Linked DNA regions of Homo sapiens: region 1 is linked to region 2. The links are contacts of gene promoters, found by promoter capture Hi-C in human tissues and cell types (Jung and others, 2019). All regions are on one chromosome and are shown on one strand. Each heading gives the region's core, a stretch centred on a gene start or on the middle of the fragment in contact. The rest is flanking DNA. Distances are from core to core; before and after follow the strand shown. Region 1 has its middle 46 kb from the start of CYP2B6. Region 2 holds the start of CYP2A6 (cytochrome P450 family 2 subfamily A member 6).

Region 1 (6,609 bases), core at 4,057-6,556, 96 kb after region 2:
AAGAGGGAGGGAAAAGGGGTAGGGAAGGGGAAGATGGGGAGTGAAGAACAAAGATTAGGGAGGGGAGAATAGTGAAAAGGAGGAGAGCAGATGAGGAAGGAAAGAAAGATGAGGTGAAAGGAAGGAGAAAATAGGAGGAACTGAGATGGAGAGAGAGTGGTGGTGGGAAGTGGGGGAGAGAGAGAGAGGGAGAGAGAAGACTGGCTGAGGAAGGAATTTGGGGCAAGAGACAAAAATACAGCAACAGGAGAAAAGACTCACGGAGGTAGAAAGAGACTGGGAGACAAAAAGAGAGAAACACATCAAAAAGATGTGGAGAGAGATAGAAACAGAGCCAGGCAGAGTAAAAAGAGGCTGAGAGAGATGAGTTAGAGATGTGCAGCTGGACATGTAGAGGACAGAGAAAAGCAAATTGGGCCAGATAATGTCAAAGACCTTCAGGCAAACGGAGGGCAGCCAGGGAGACAGGCGTGTGCACAGCAAGGCTACAGCCTCTCCTGACCCTGCCCTCCCCTCCCTACTGTGGACGCAGGAGAAATCCAACCCACACAGTGAATTCAGCCACCAGAACCTCATCATCAACACGCTCTCGCTCTTCTTTGCTGGCACTGAGACCACCAGCACCACTCTCCGCTACGGCTTCCTGCTCATGCTCAAATACCCTCATGTCGCAGGTGGGCCAGGGACAGCCAGTCAAGGGGGTCTTCTGGACTGCAGAAATGGGGCTATGGGTACCACCTGGATGAGAGAGGGGATGCTGGCTTCCTATTCCGGGATCACTGTAGGCTCTGGACTAGCTTCCAATCAAGCCAATTCTGTTGGTGGATGCATGGACGCATGAAGAATCTGTCCATGCGTTCTCCCATTGTTTTCTTCCATCACTCAAGGATCTTTTTTTTTTTTTTAAGACAGAGTCTTGCTCTGTCACCCAGGCTGGAGTGCAGTGGCGCGATCTTGGCTCACTGCAAGCTCCACTTCCAGGTTTCATGCCATTCTCCTGCCTCAGCTTCCTGAGTAGCTGGGACTGCAGGCGCCCGCCGCCACACCCGGCTATTTTTTTGTATTTTTAGTAGGGATGGGGTTTCACCATGTTAGCCAGGATGGTCTCGATCTCCTGATCTTGTGATGTACAAATTTAGGGAGTACATATGCAGTTTTGTTATGTGCGTAGGTTTTGTAATGGTCAAGTTAGGGCCGTTAGGGTATTTATCACCCGAACAGTGTACATTGTACCCATTAAGTAATTTCTCATCATTCACCTCCCCCTTCTGCTCCCTCGCTCTTCTTAGTCTTCACTGTCTGTTGTTCCTCTCTCTGTGTCCATGTGTACACATTTTGTAGCACTCACTTATGAGTGAGAACATGGAATATTTGACTTTCTGTGCCATGACTTAAAAATTGATCCGTTCATCCACTTATCTTTTCATCTATTCTTTGTTTAATTTATTAATTAAAGAATGTGTACTCACTGATTTTTTCATTTATGATTCATCCAAGGACATATACTGTGTCATTCATTTATTTGGATTACTTGATCCACAAGTTGATCCTTTGAAACAGTGATATGTTGATGGACAATTTGTCATTGATTCATTGGTTCATTTATTCATTCATTCATGCATTCTTCCATCCTTCTATGAACTAGGTTTCACCCTTATCCTTCCATCAGTCAGTCTTTCAATTCACCCTTAATCCATCCATGCTTTCCTTCATTTATCACAATAATTCACTCATTTATTCACCTCTGATCTATTTATCATTCAATCCAGCCATTCATTTATTCCTTTATTTACTCATACTTCACTAATTTACTTATTCACTTGTTCTTCCATAAATCTAGCCATTCATGTGATTATTCATTAATTGGGTTCATTGATTTCTTTGTCTATGGACCATTCATTAGTGATTAATTAATCAATCAATCCATCTATTAATTGGTAAGTAAATATATACATCCATTTATTGGTTTGTTCATTTCTTCATCAATCTTTCCTTCCATGAATTGATCTATTGATTGATTGATTGATGTTTTTATCCAGTTGTTCATGGATTCATCTATTGTTCTATTACACTGTTATATACCTGAGGACCAAGAATAGTGTCTCACCTATAATATACACACAATAAATATTAGTTTATTTTCTACTCATCTTAGAGAGGGTGTTTTGATTTGTGGCCTGGAGTTCTTAATCTGAAATTCCATGCAAAATCGTGTTATGTGTGTGCATATGTGTGTGTGTACCTGTGCATGTGGGAAGAGGATCCATAATAGTCATTAGATTTCAAGCAGTGAGAATTCTTGTTGCTTCCTTCCTGCTCTCCTCACCCCACGCTGATTGCTTTGAGGAGTATCAAAGATCTAAGCCTTTACTGTAGGTTTTTAATTGGTCAATAGAAAGTAGTGTCCCTGCTGAAAGGTCTCTTTTTAAAAAATTTTCTTTCCTTCTTTTTTCTTTTTTTTAATTTTGAGACAGAGTCTTGCTCCGTCACCCAGGCTGGAGTGCAGTGGCATGATCTCAGCTCACTGCAACCTCCACCTCCTGGGTTCAAGCGATTCTCCTGCCTCAGCCTCCTGAGTAGCTAGGACTACAGGCTTGCACCACCACACCCAGCTAATTTTTTGTATTTTTAGTAGAGATGGGATTTTGCCATGTTGGCCAGGCTCATCTTGAACTCCTGAACTCAAGCAACCTGCCCACCTCAGTCTCCCAAAATGCTGGGATTACAGGTGTGAGCCACCATGCCTGGCCTCAAATGCCTCTTTAAAATGAGATTCATTCATCTTCTTCTCTGTGCAGAGAGAGTCTACAAGGAGATTGAACAGGTGGTTGGCCCACATCGCCCTCCAGCGCTTGATGACCGAGCCAAAATGCCATACACAGAGGCAGTCATCCGTGAGATTCAGAGATTTGCTGACCTTCTCCCCATGGGTGTGCCCCACATTGTCACCCAACACACCAGCTTCTGAGGGTACACCATCCCCAAGGTAAGACTGGCTGCACCCCCACATCCCTCCTGTGTGGGCATCCTGGATTTTCTTAATCCCCAAACTCAACCTTTTGTTAGCTTCTCAATTGAGTCCCCTTGTTTTTGTTTTTTTCTTTTTCTTTTTTGTGCTGTGTGTGTGGAGGGTGGGCAGGGAATGGCAATATCTTTTGATCTTGTGATCCTTCCTCAGGACACGGAAGTATTTCTCATCCTGAGCACTGCTCTCCGTGACCCACACTACTTTGAAAAACCAGACGCCTTCAATCCTGACCACTTTCTGGATGCCAATGGGGCACTGAAAAAGAATGAAGCTTTTATCCCCTTCTCCTTAGGTAAGCTGGACCCACAGTTTCTTTCCCAGACACCAGAGGGCAGGTCCTATCCTCAACTTGAGAAAAAAAATGACAGGTCCTTATTAATTGAGCACTTAATATATTCCAATTGCTTCACCTGCCTTATCCCCTTCCATCTTCACTACAACCCTGTAAGGAGGCTTGAGAAAGAAGATGACATTCCCAAAGGCACATCTGGGCAAGCAGGAACTTGGGCAAGTATTTTAACATCTCTAAACCTCAGTGAATTCATTTTCTTAAAAAGAAAAAAATCTGTTGAGCACCGCTGTAAGCCCAGTGCTGTACTAGGGGCTGAAGACAATGCATCAAACAGGTCACACGGAGACAGGGTTCCTGCCCCAGGAAATTTAAAGTCCAGCAGGGAAGATGGACATTCATCAAATAATAATAAAATAATCATCTCATGAAATGAATGAATGCCTGCAACATGCTTGGAACTGCCTGGCACAAAGGACATGCTCACGGGGCAATTATTATTATAATTAGACATAATTGTGATAAGTGCTCTAAAGGGAGCTTTGGGAGCACAAAATAGGAAATAGTAGCTAATCTTGTGGTGGGTCATTAAGGAAAAGCTTACCAGAGGAACTGGCTTCCAAGCCGAGATGTTCATGGGTGGGCGTCAATCAATGATTGCAAAGTGTGTTCCAGGCAAAGGAAACAGCAAGGGCAAAGGCTAAAGGTGGAAATGTGATGGTACCATTGAGAATCTATAGGAAGTCCAGTGAGCCTTGGGTGTAGATTGCGGAAGGGAATAAGACAAAGGGCTCAGCTGGGCAGGACCTTGAAGGCTGTGGAAGGAGTTTGGATTTATGGTCTAGCACTGGGGAGGTGGAGAAGGTCTTGACGTGCTCTGACTTGTCCCAGTTCTCATCCTCCACTCTTTGGCTGGTTAAGAGAAAAACTTTAGGCAAATTAAACTTAGCAGAGTCTATTTGAGCAAAGAAACAATTCATGAATTGGGCAGCACACGGAACCAGGAAAGGTTCAGAGAGCTCCACCCAGCAATGTGATCAGGCACTATTTATCCATAGGGAAAGGAACTGAGGTACAGAAACAGCCTGATTGGTTACAGCTCTGTGTTTGCCTTATCTGAGCATGTCTGGGCAGCTTGTAGCCTGTGACTGGCTGAAGCTTGGCTGCCCTGATTGTCCAAGGTTACTTGTTACAAGAATATACTCTCAAGTTACATTGCAGTTTGTTTACATGTTGAGTTACGTTACAGTTTGTTATGCAGGGAGGCTGCTTTAGGCCAAATTTAATTTAATTTAACACGCACCATCCATGAAAGGCCCCAGAAACAAATCCCTAGTCTTGAGTTTCATCAGTGACTTCAGCAACCCAGGGTCCTGGCCCAGCCCCTGGTTTTGTGCAGTACAGTGACCTCCTTCCACATTTTATCTTCAATGACAGTTAGGAACACATGGGGTGATGGCTTGAGGGTCAATGTCTTCTCTCAATTTTGCTGTCTTGTTTTTTTTTTTTTTTCCTTTTTTGAGACACCGTCTCGTTCTATCACCCAGGCTGGAGTGCAGTGGCACAATCTCAGCTCACTGCAAGCTCTGCTTCCTGGGTTCATGCCATCCTCCTGCCTCAGCCTCCTGAGTAGCTGGGAGTATAGGCACCTGCCACCATGCCCGGCTAATTTTTTGTGTTTTTTAGTAGAGACAGGGTTTCACCGTGTTAGCCAGAATAGTCTTGATCTCCTGATCTCGCGATCCACCCGCCTCAGCCTCCCAAAGTGCTGGAATTACAGGCGTGAGCCACCATGCCTGAGACATTATCTTAAGGTTTCTTTTTTTTTTTTTCTTCAGACAGGGTCTTGCTCTGTTGCCCTGGCTGGAGTGCAGTGTCATGATCTCAGGTCACTGCAACCTCTGCCTCCCAGGTTCAAGCGATTCTCCTGCCTCAGCCTCCCAGGTACCTGGGACTACAGGTGTGTACCACCATGCCTGGCTAATTTTTTGTGTTTTTAGTAGAGATGGGGTTTCACCATGTTAGCCAGGATGGTCCTGATCTTCTGACCTGGTGATATTCCTTCCTCAGTCTCTCAAAGTGCTGGGATTACAAGCGTGAGCCATTGTGACAGGCCTGCTATTTTGTTTTAAGAGAGGCAGAGATGTAGGGAAATAAGGACAGAGACAGATAAGTAACAAAGATAATAAGATTGAGAAACATAGTTGGGGACAAAGAGGGAACACACTGAGAGATAGAGATGGGGAGACAGTGGCAGAAGGACAGACAGCAGGTGAACATCAGGCAGTATACGGAGAGGAAGAGAGAGAGACACACACAGAGAGAGCCACATAAGGAGAAGAGGAGGAGGAGGAATAAGAGGAGAGGGAGGAGGAAAAGGAAGGCGGAGGGGAGAAGGAAGGAGGGAAAGGAGAGAAACAGAATAAGAGATAGGAAAAAGAGAGAGTGACACAAGAAGAGAGGAAGAAAGAATGAAGGAGACAAATAAGGTATCTTTAGAGGGAGATGAAAAGAAAGAAGGAGAGAGAGAGAGATTGGGGAGCAATCAGATTCAAATAGATGGAGATAGGAGGTTAAGCAAGATGGAAGAAAGCCAAAAAAGGAGAGGAAAAGAAGAAAAACTGTGTCTGACAGGTATAGACAGAGAAAAAGACAGGAGTAGGGCTGCCAGGGGCAGAAAGAAAGGTATAACCCAAGCCAAAAGGGTACTGCAGCCAAAGAAATTCGAAAGGTGTCCAAACAGATGGCCCCAGAGATGGGGAGGGCGTGATGAGAGGGAGATAATAAGCATCAGGCTGTTGTGGAAAATGTTAGGTCACACAAAGAGCTACAGAAGAACAGGCCCAGAGACCTGCCTGTTTCTAAGCTCATGTTGCCCAACTTCTGGATGTGCCAAAGGGACATGGACCCATTTCCAGACACCTCCACATAGACACACTTGTCCAACAACTTGGCAGGCATAGGGAATGCCTGAAAACTCACACTTGACATGGCCTTTCCAAGGTTTGCAGATTATGAAACACTGAAGTGAAGGGAAAGGCTCCCTTTGTCTCTGCCTCAGCTTTTTCCAGCTCCCTTTGTTCTCATTTTTCTCCCAATCTGTGGTTTAGAACCTACTGGGGGTTCCTTGCACCTCTGAGAATCGGTGGAAGCCATAGACCCTCCCTGTCTCATATGCATCAGTCCCATTCACAATTTATATACAATTTGGGTTTTTTACCCCCTGAGCTCTTGAAGCCTGTGGATCTCAGGCTGAGACCAGAAAACAGCCTAGAGACACAGACACAGACAC
Region 2 (6,405 bases), core at 293-2,792:
GCTGCAAACTCAGTCAGAGAAACACGATGTCGAGGTAGAGAGAGAGAGAGAGAGAGAGAGAGAGAGAGAGAGAAGAGAGAGAGGAGAGAGAGAGAGAGAGAGAGAGAAGAGAGAGAGGAGAGAGAGAGAGAAGAGAGAGAGGAGAGAGAGAGAGAGAGAGAGAGAGAGAGAGAGAGAGAGAGAGACCAGGTTTAAAGAATAAGACAATCAGAAAAGAAACAGAAAGGCCAGACAGAGAGATGCACATAGAAACAGAGGGATAAGGGGACACTCCATGGAGGAAGGGAAGGAAGTGGGGAGAGAAAGAGAGTGATGGAGGAAGAGGATGGAGGGAGGGGAAGTGAGATATGGGGAGATCTGGGAGGAGGAAATAAAAATGGTGAAAGATTCTTAAGCTGAGCTGGAGAAGAGAGAAAAATATTGAGATAGAAACAGAGAGGGTCTGGAAGGAAGAGAGACTGTTACCAGGAGATGGAGGCTGAAGATGTGGAAGTAGGAATACCCTGAAATCCTAAGACAGAGGAAGAAGTGAGAAAGGGATGCGGAGAGATGAGAAACACAGAGAAGCCCAGAAGCTAAGAGGGACAAAAAGACAAATGAAGACAGAGAACCAGGGCTGGAAAACAGAAACCCAGGATGTCCTTAGAGATGGAGAGAGAGGGGAAAGAGGAGACTCCAGTGAGAGAGAATAAGGAGGTGGGGCAGAGAGAGGCAGGGAGGAATCAGGACAGGGACGCTGGAGACAGGTGAGGGATACACATGGAGAGGCCACAATGAAGGGAGATGGGGAGGGAAGACCAGACTGGGGACTCTGCCTTAGCCTCCAGTTGGCAGGAGAGTCAGGGAGAAGGCTGGGAACACTGAGACCTTCGTGTCCACCTGGCCACCTTCCCCCTCTTGGGCACCCCCTCACCATAGCCTTTGAAGACCCAGTCGAAGGTGGCTTGCTCGCCTCGCCCGCTGAACTCCTCAGCCTGGTCCACCAGAGCCTCCCTGACGGCATCATGTCCACACAGCACCACGACCCGCCGGGGCCCCAAGTGAATGGTGAACACGGGGCCATAGCGCTCACTGATCTGATGGAGGTGGGTGGGAGTGGTTAGAGGGAGAAGCCTCCACTCTGAATGGGGCCCAGCACCGAGATGTCATGTGCTGGGATGCTTCGCACCCAGGTTCTCACAGTCAGGGAGCTGGACATCCCAAGATCCTGTCTTTCTGATGCTGAAACTCCAAAACTCCATTTCCTAAGACTCTGGTCCACACTGGTCAACCCCCTGCCACAAAGCCCCAGCCAACTAGGCAGCCCCCACCCCGTGCCACCCATCTCCCTGCCTTGGGACACCTTCATGAGGGAGTTGTACATCTGCTCTGTGTTCAGCTGCAGGTAGTTTCCAATGAAGGGCAATGGGGTGGGTCCCGGAGGCAGCTTCCCCTTGCTCTTCCTCTGCTGCCAAACAGACATCAAGACCATTACAGTCAGGCAGACCAGCAAGGCCACCAGAAGCATCCCTGAGGCCAGCATGGTGGTAGTGGGATGATAGATGGTGACGGCTGGGGTGGTTTGCCTTTATACTGCCTGAAAAAGAGGGATGGACTTTGGCTGATTACATAATTACCTCATTTCACCTCCCAACTACATGCCCCACCATGAATCCTGCCTAGCTTGGGACACAGCCAGCAAGGGAGGATAAGGGGACCCCAGGGCAGCTGAACAGAGAGGGGGCCTCCAGACTAAATCTGTGGTACTTCAGGAGGGGTGCCGCAGGGCTGTGGATTTAGGAGGGGGCAACAGATAAGCTGTAGAACTGAGGAGTTTGGAATATTTGCATAGGGGAGCACTTGGGCTTTGGATTTGGGGTCTGAGAGTGAGAATGCACCCCAAAGTTGTGGATCTGGGGGTTCCAGGGGAGAGGAATCCAAAGGTCTGGGTTTTATTAGGGTAAGACAAAGTGTGGCTGTGCATTTAGGGGTCTTCTGTTGTGGAGGATGCAGGGTTAAGGGTCTCAGGAAGGGGGATTCCAGGCATATGGACTTGAAAGTCTCGGGGCTAGGAAGACCCAGGGCTGTGGGTGTGGAGTTTCTGGGAGGAGGAGTGTGTAGCAAGCCCAGCGGGTTCTCCCAGAAAGCCCAGCAGCCCAGCACTGGGTCCAGGGGCTGACTTGATTTTGCTTTTGCCCAGAGCTGTCTCTTGATGCCCAGAATCCTCATTGGAACCTCAGAGTGAGGCCAGGATGGGTGCCATAGAACCTCCACTGCCCATCTCTGATTGGGAAGGGGAGGAAGACCAGAGCCATATTTCAGGGGAACTTTCCCCACACCTGGAGAAGAGTACCTGGAGTTAGCGGTTGGCAGAGGGATTGGCTAGGTCTGGAGAAATAGTAATAACAACCCCCAAATGGTGGAAAAATCTCAAGTGTCCCAAGGGTTGTCCGCTGGTTTCCAACCCAGATCCTCAGGGAAACCCACTAGATTGATTGTATCATCCCTATTAATATTATGATTGTTGTTTATGTTTCTCATTTTATATAAAGATCTACAGAGGACAGAAAACAGACAGTGGGCAGGGGACATGTGTGAGTGGCCCTGAACTCCCATCTCTCCTGCTCTGTGTACTTAGTTCCCCTTTCTGGATTTGGTTTTCCTGCCAGTGGAAAGGGAGTGTTTGGGAAGAGAAGATCACATTCGAGGGTGAGTTAAGTCTCCTTTAAGAATGATTCCTGCTTTGTCAGGGGCTACTACTATTAGCAGGCAGAGGGAACAGTGGCAGAAGAGATTGGGGTAAACTCCAGTATTAGGCACAGAGGCAGATCCTGGGGTGGGTGTGAGTGGAGAAGGGATGAGTAGCCCTCCTGTCCTTCCCTCAGGGAAATTCTTCCTTAGTAAACAGGACAGTTACCCTTTGGTGAGCATGGTCGTATACGGGAAGATTAAGTCTAGGTGTGTATGATCTGGTTGAATCTTTGTAACAATGAGGTTGGTTCATCATGATCATCCTCATTTTGAAGATGAGCAGATCTAGACTCCATAAATCCTCTTGAGTGAGGTCACACAGGGAGTAAGTGAGGGAGCTGGGATGTGAACTTTCTCCTCACCCCCCTTCATTGACTGGCCTAGATCACCCTGGGAGTCAAGTGCAGGCCAGCCTTAGCAGGAGGTGAGTGCTGGGACTGGCATCAGCAGTGGACACACTGATGACATTGGTGGGTTCTGATATCAGCATCAGGTATGGCCAGGGAGGGAAAGGCATCGTGTTGGCTTTGGGACTGCCCCCAGGTGTATGCGAGGATGGGAAACAAGTTGGCACTGAACTTGACACCAGGAGAATATTGAAGTCATGTTTGGTGCCAAGAGGGCTCTGTGTGTTGTCTCAGGTGTCATTGAGGGCATAAGAGTGTCCTGCTTCAGGAGGGCGTAAGGGTGGCACCATATAGGGTCTGAGGTTGGTCCCAGTGGGCTGTGACATGAGCATGAGGCAGGTGCTGATATTGGTCCTATGTGGGTCTGAGATGAGCCTCAGCCAGACCCTGAGAGGGGCCCCAGATGGCCACAGGACAGGCTGTGGTGGTTGGACCATTTAGGGTTGCACCTGTCCTCTGGGTCACCAACTTTGGACAAGTGGAGGTGGGTGAGGTTGGCACCCCCAGGACTGACATCTTGCTCAAACTGTTCTAGGATGCTGAGCTCTGAGACCTGTGTGGAGGGAACAAAGGTCAGAGAACAAGGCAGAGAGAGGAAAGTTGTTTGTTGATTTTGGAGGGGAAGAGGTGGGAAGGAAGATTAGCACCAGCTTGGCAGATATCAATCGCTCTAATCCTGTTCACCAGTCTGCACCTGGGCCTGGCTCCTCCTTTTCCTTCGTGTTTCTTAAAAAGGTGGGAGACAGAAATCTGGGGAGTTTGTTTCTCACTGGGGTTGGCACTAGGAAGTGCACTGAGTGATCAGCAGGTTGCCATGACCTGGCCAGGGAGGGGATGGGGAGAGACAGGTTGGGAGAACTCTAGTATTTGTGGACATAGAGGTCAATGAATTTTGGACTTGTTGATTACCCTAGAGCATGGAGTGAGAGAATGGTGTCTGAAATCATGTGGGAGGGACTTGTCCCAGTGGGCAGTGTCTTGGGAACAGGCTTTCAGAGTGAGTTAGTGGCGAGCCCAGGAAGATCCCTTTCCTTTGCTGGGCCTCAGTTTCCCTTTCTGAATGGATGGTGCAATGATTAAGGCCTGGATTGGAATCCTAACCTTATCCTTTCTTTGTTGTGTGGCTTTGAACAGCTGACTTCATCTCTCTGAGTCTTATGGAGCCAAGAACAGCTCCTACCTCTTTGGCTATTTAGGGGAGAAGTATAAGTGTTAATGCAGATGAGGTACATGGCAGTAAGTGCTCAATGAATGGTAGTTGTTCTCTTTAATCTGTAGGATGAAGCGGATGGATGAGATGTTCCCTAAGCACATTCCTTGCTTTTACATTCTCTAGTCTAAAGCTCACAAATCTTTTCCTTTGGGAAGGAGGAAAGGGACAGAGTCTTTGGGAACCTCCTTCGCCATCCCTTCCTCAGCACAGCCAAGCTTTACCCCATGGAGCTGTGAATAGGAAATTAATCCTTCATGGCCTCCTGGAGTGTGGTGCTGAGTTAGGCAGTATCTGCGGAAGGACAGGCCAGCATTAGACTCTCAGGTTATTCTGGTTGGCCCTGGAGCCCTGCACAGGACTTTGCCCACCTGTCTGTCTATGCTTGTCTTGGATCCCATCTTTCTATCTTTCTCTTTCTCCTTCCCTGCAAGTCAGTGTTCCCCTCAATCACCCTGTGTGCTCATGCATCTTTGTGTTTTGTGCCATTTTGTCCAGTGGGTTCTCCTGGATGCCTCTGCCATGTTTATCCTCATTTATACAACTGTGTGTGTGTCATTCTGGGTGCATGCTTTTAGTGTCTACGTGTATGTATGTTTCAGCATGTTCATGTTGATACATGAATTTATGTGTGCACCAGGCTTTGTGGTGTGTATGTTTGTGCTTGATAATGGGTATCCATTCCAACTTATGTCTGCACATGCACATGTGTGTGTGTGCCTGACAGGGTGTGGCACTGTTTCTCAATGCTTGCCAATCTTTGTGTCTGTCTCTGCATACAGCATGTGTGCACACATGATTTAGGGGTGTCTACGATGTGTATTTCTGTGTAGAACAAGATGAATGCTGCATATTCATATTTGTGTGTATACATTCACAATTGGGTGACTACATATAAGTATGTGGATGTTTTTTTCTTTGTTTTTTTTTTTGAGACAGAGTCTTGCTCTGTCCCCACGCTGGGGGGCAGTGGCATGGTCTCGGCTGGAACCTCTGCCTCCCAGGTTTACACCATTCATCTGCCTCAGCCTGCTGAGTGGCTGGGGCTACAGGTGCCTGCCACCATGCCCGGCTAATTTTTTGTATTTTTAGTAGAGATGGGGTTTCACCATGTTAGCCAGGATGGTCTCGATCTCCTGACCTCATGATCCGCCCGCCTCGGACTCCCAAAGTGCTGGGATTACAGGTGTGAGCCACCGTGCCCGGCCAGTACGTGGATGTTTTCATGTGTTCATTCTGGTGTGTGTGTGCAGACTTGTGGGCCATGTTGCATACACGTGAACATGTGATATTTTCCTGTGCTCATCTGTGTTTGGATTAAAACAGTCCTATCCCAGCTCCATTTATCTGCTTGAAAAAACCCCCAGAACTGCAGGAAGCTTTTTATGAGCATAATCTTAATTGAACTCCTGATTGCAAGACTGAGGTTAGCTTTATCATCTCCATTTTGCAAATGAGTTAGATAAGTTCCCCCAAAGCCGGTCATAAGTGACTTGCTTCTGCATTTCACAGCTAATGAGTGTAGAGTCTTAGTATGGTCTTGTGTGATGGTAAATTTTTTTTTTTTGAGATGGAGTTTCGCTCTTTTGCTCTTGTTGCCCAGGCTCGAGTGCAATGGTGCGATCTTGGCTCACTGCAACCTCTGCCTCCTGGGTTCAAGTGATTCTCCAGCCTCAGCCTCCCGAGTAGCTGGGATTATAGCCACCAGACACAGCTCATTTTTCTATTTTTAGTAGACACGGGGTTCACCATATTTGTCAGGCTGGTTTCAAACTCCTGACCTCAGGTGATCTGCCCACTTCGGCCTCCCAAAGTGCTGGGATTACAGGCATGAGCTACCACGCCTGGCTGTGAATGTAAGTTTCATGCTGTTAATCACCACTTTGGACTGCTAGGCCCCACCTGTTTTTCTTTATGAAACATTAGAAAAACTGCTTGTACTCCCTTGTATTTCTTCAAATACTTCCGTGTAAACATGTAACAAAAGATTTCAAAATGTTAGAAAAAAAAAGTCTTTTAATAGGAGGGAGACTTGACCTTCTATAGTGTTTGCACTCT

The links. Contacts are between HindIII fragments. The study calls those that stand out against the background at their distance.
Region 1: a fragment that was not itself captured here is called in contact with the fragment with the promoter of CYP2A6 in region 2 in 2 of the 25 tissues and cell types used here (liver and mesendoderm cells).

What each region holds. Positions count from the first base shown.
Region 1 is chr19:40,941,533-40,948,141 of GRCh38, forward strand. It overlaps the pseudogene CYP2B7P. Among named protein-coding and RNA genes, the nearest start is that of CYP2B6, 46 kb to the right of the region's middle. The HindIII fragment of the contact is 3,398 bases long and covers 3,608-6,609 here.
Region 2 is chr19:40,848,905-40,855,309 of GRCh38, forward strand. CYP2A6 (cytochrome P450 family 2 subfamily A member 6) reads right to left here and starts at 1,543. Exons shown (of 9, transcript NM_000762.6): 1 at 1,343-1,543; 2 at 914-1,076. The coding sequence starts at 1,522. RefSeq lists promoters at 1,522-2,541, 1,522-1,658 and enhancers at 2,711-2,739, 3,935-3,969, 6,054-6,405. The HindIII fragment of the contact is 10,166 bases long and covers 1-5,145 here.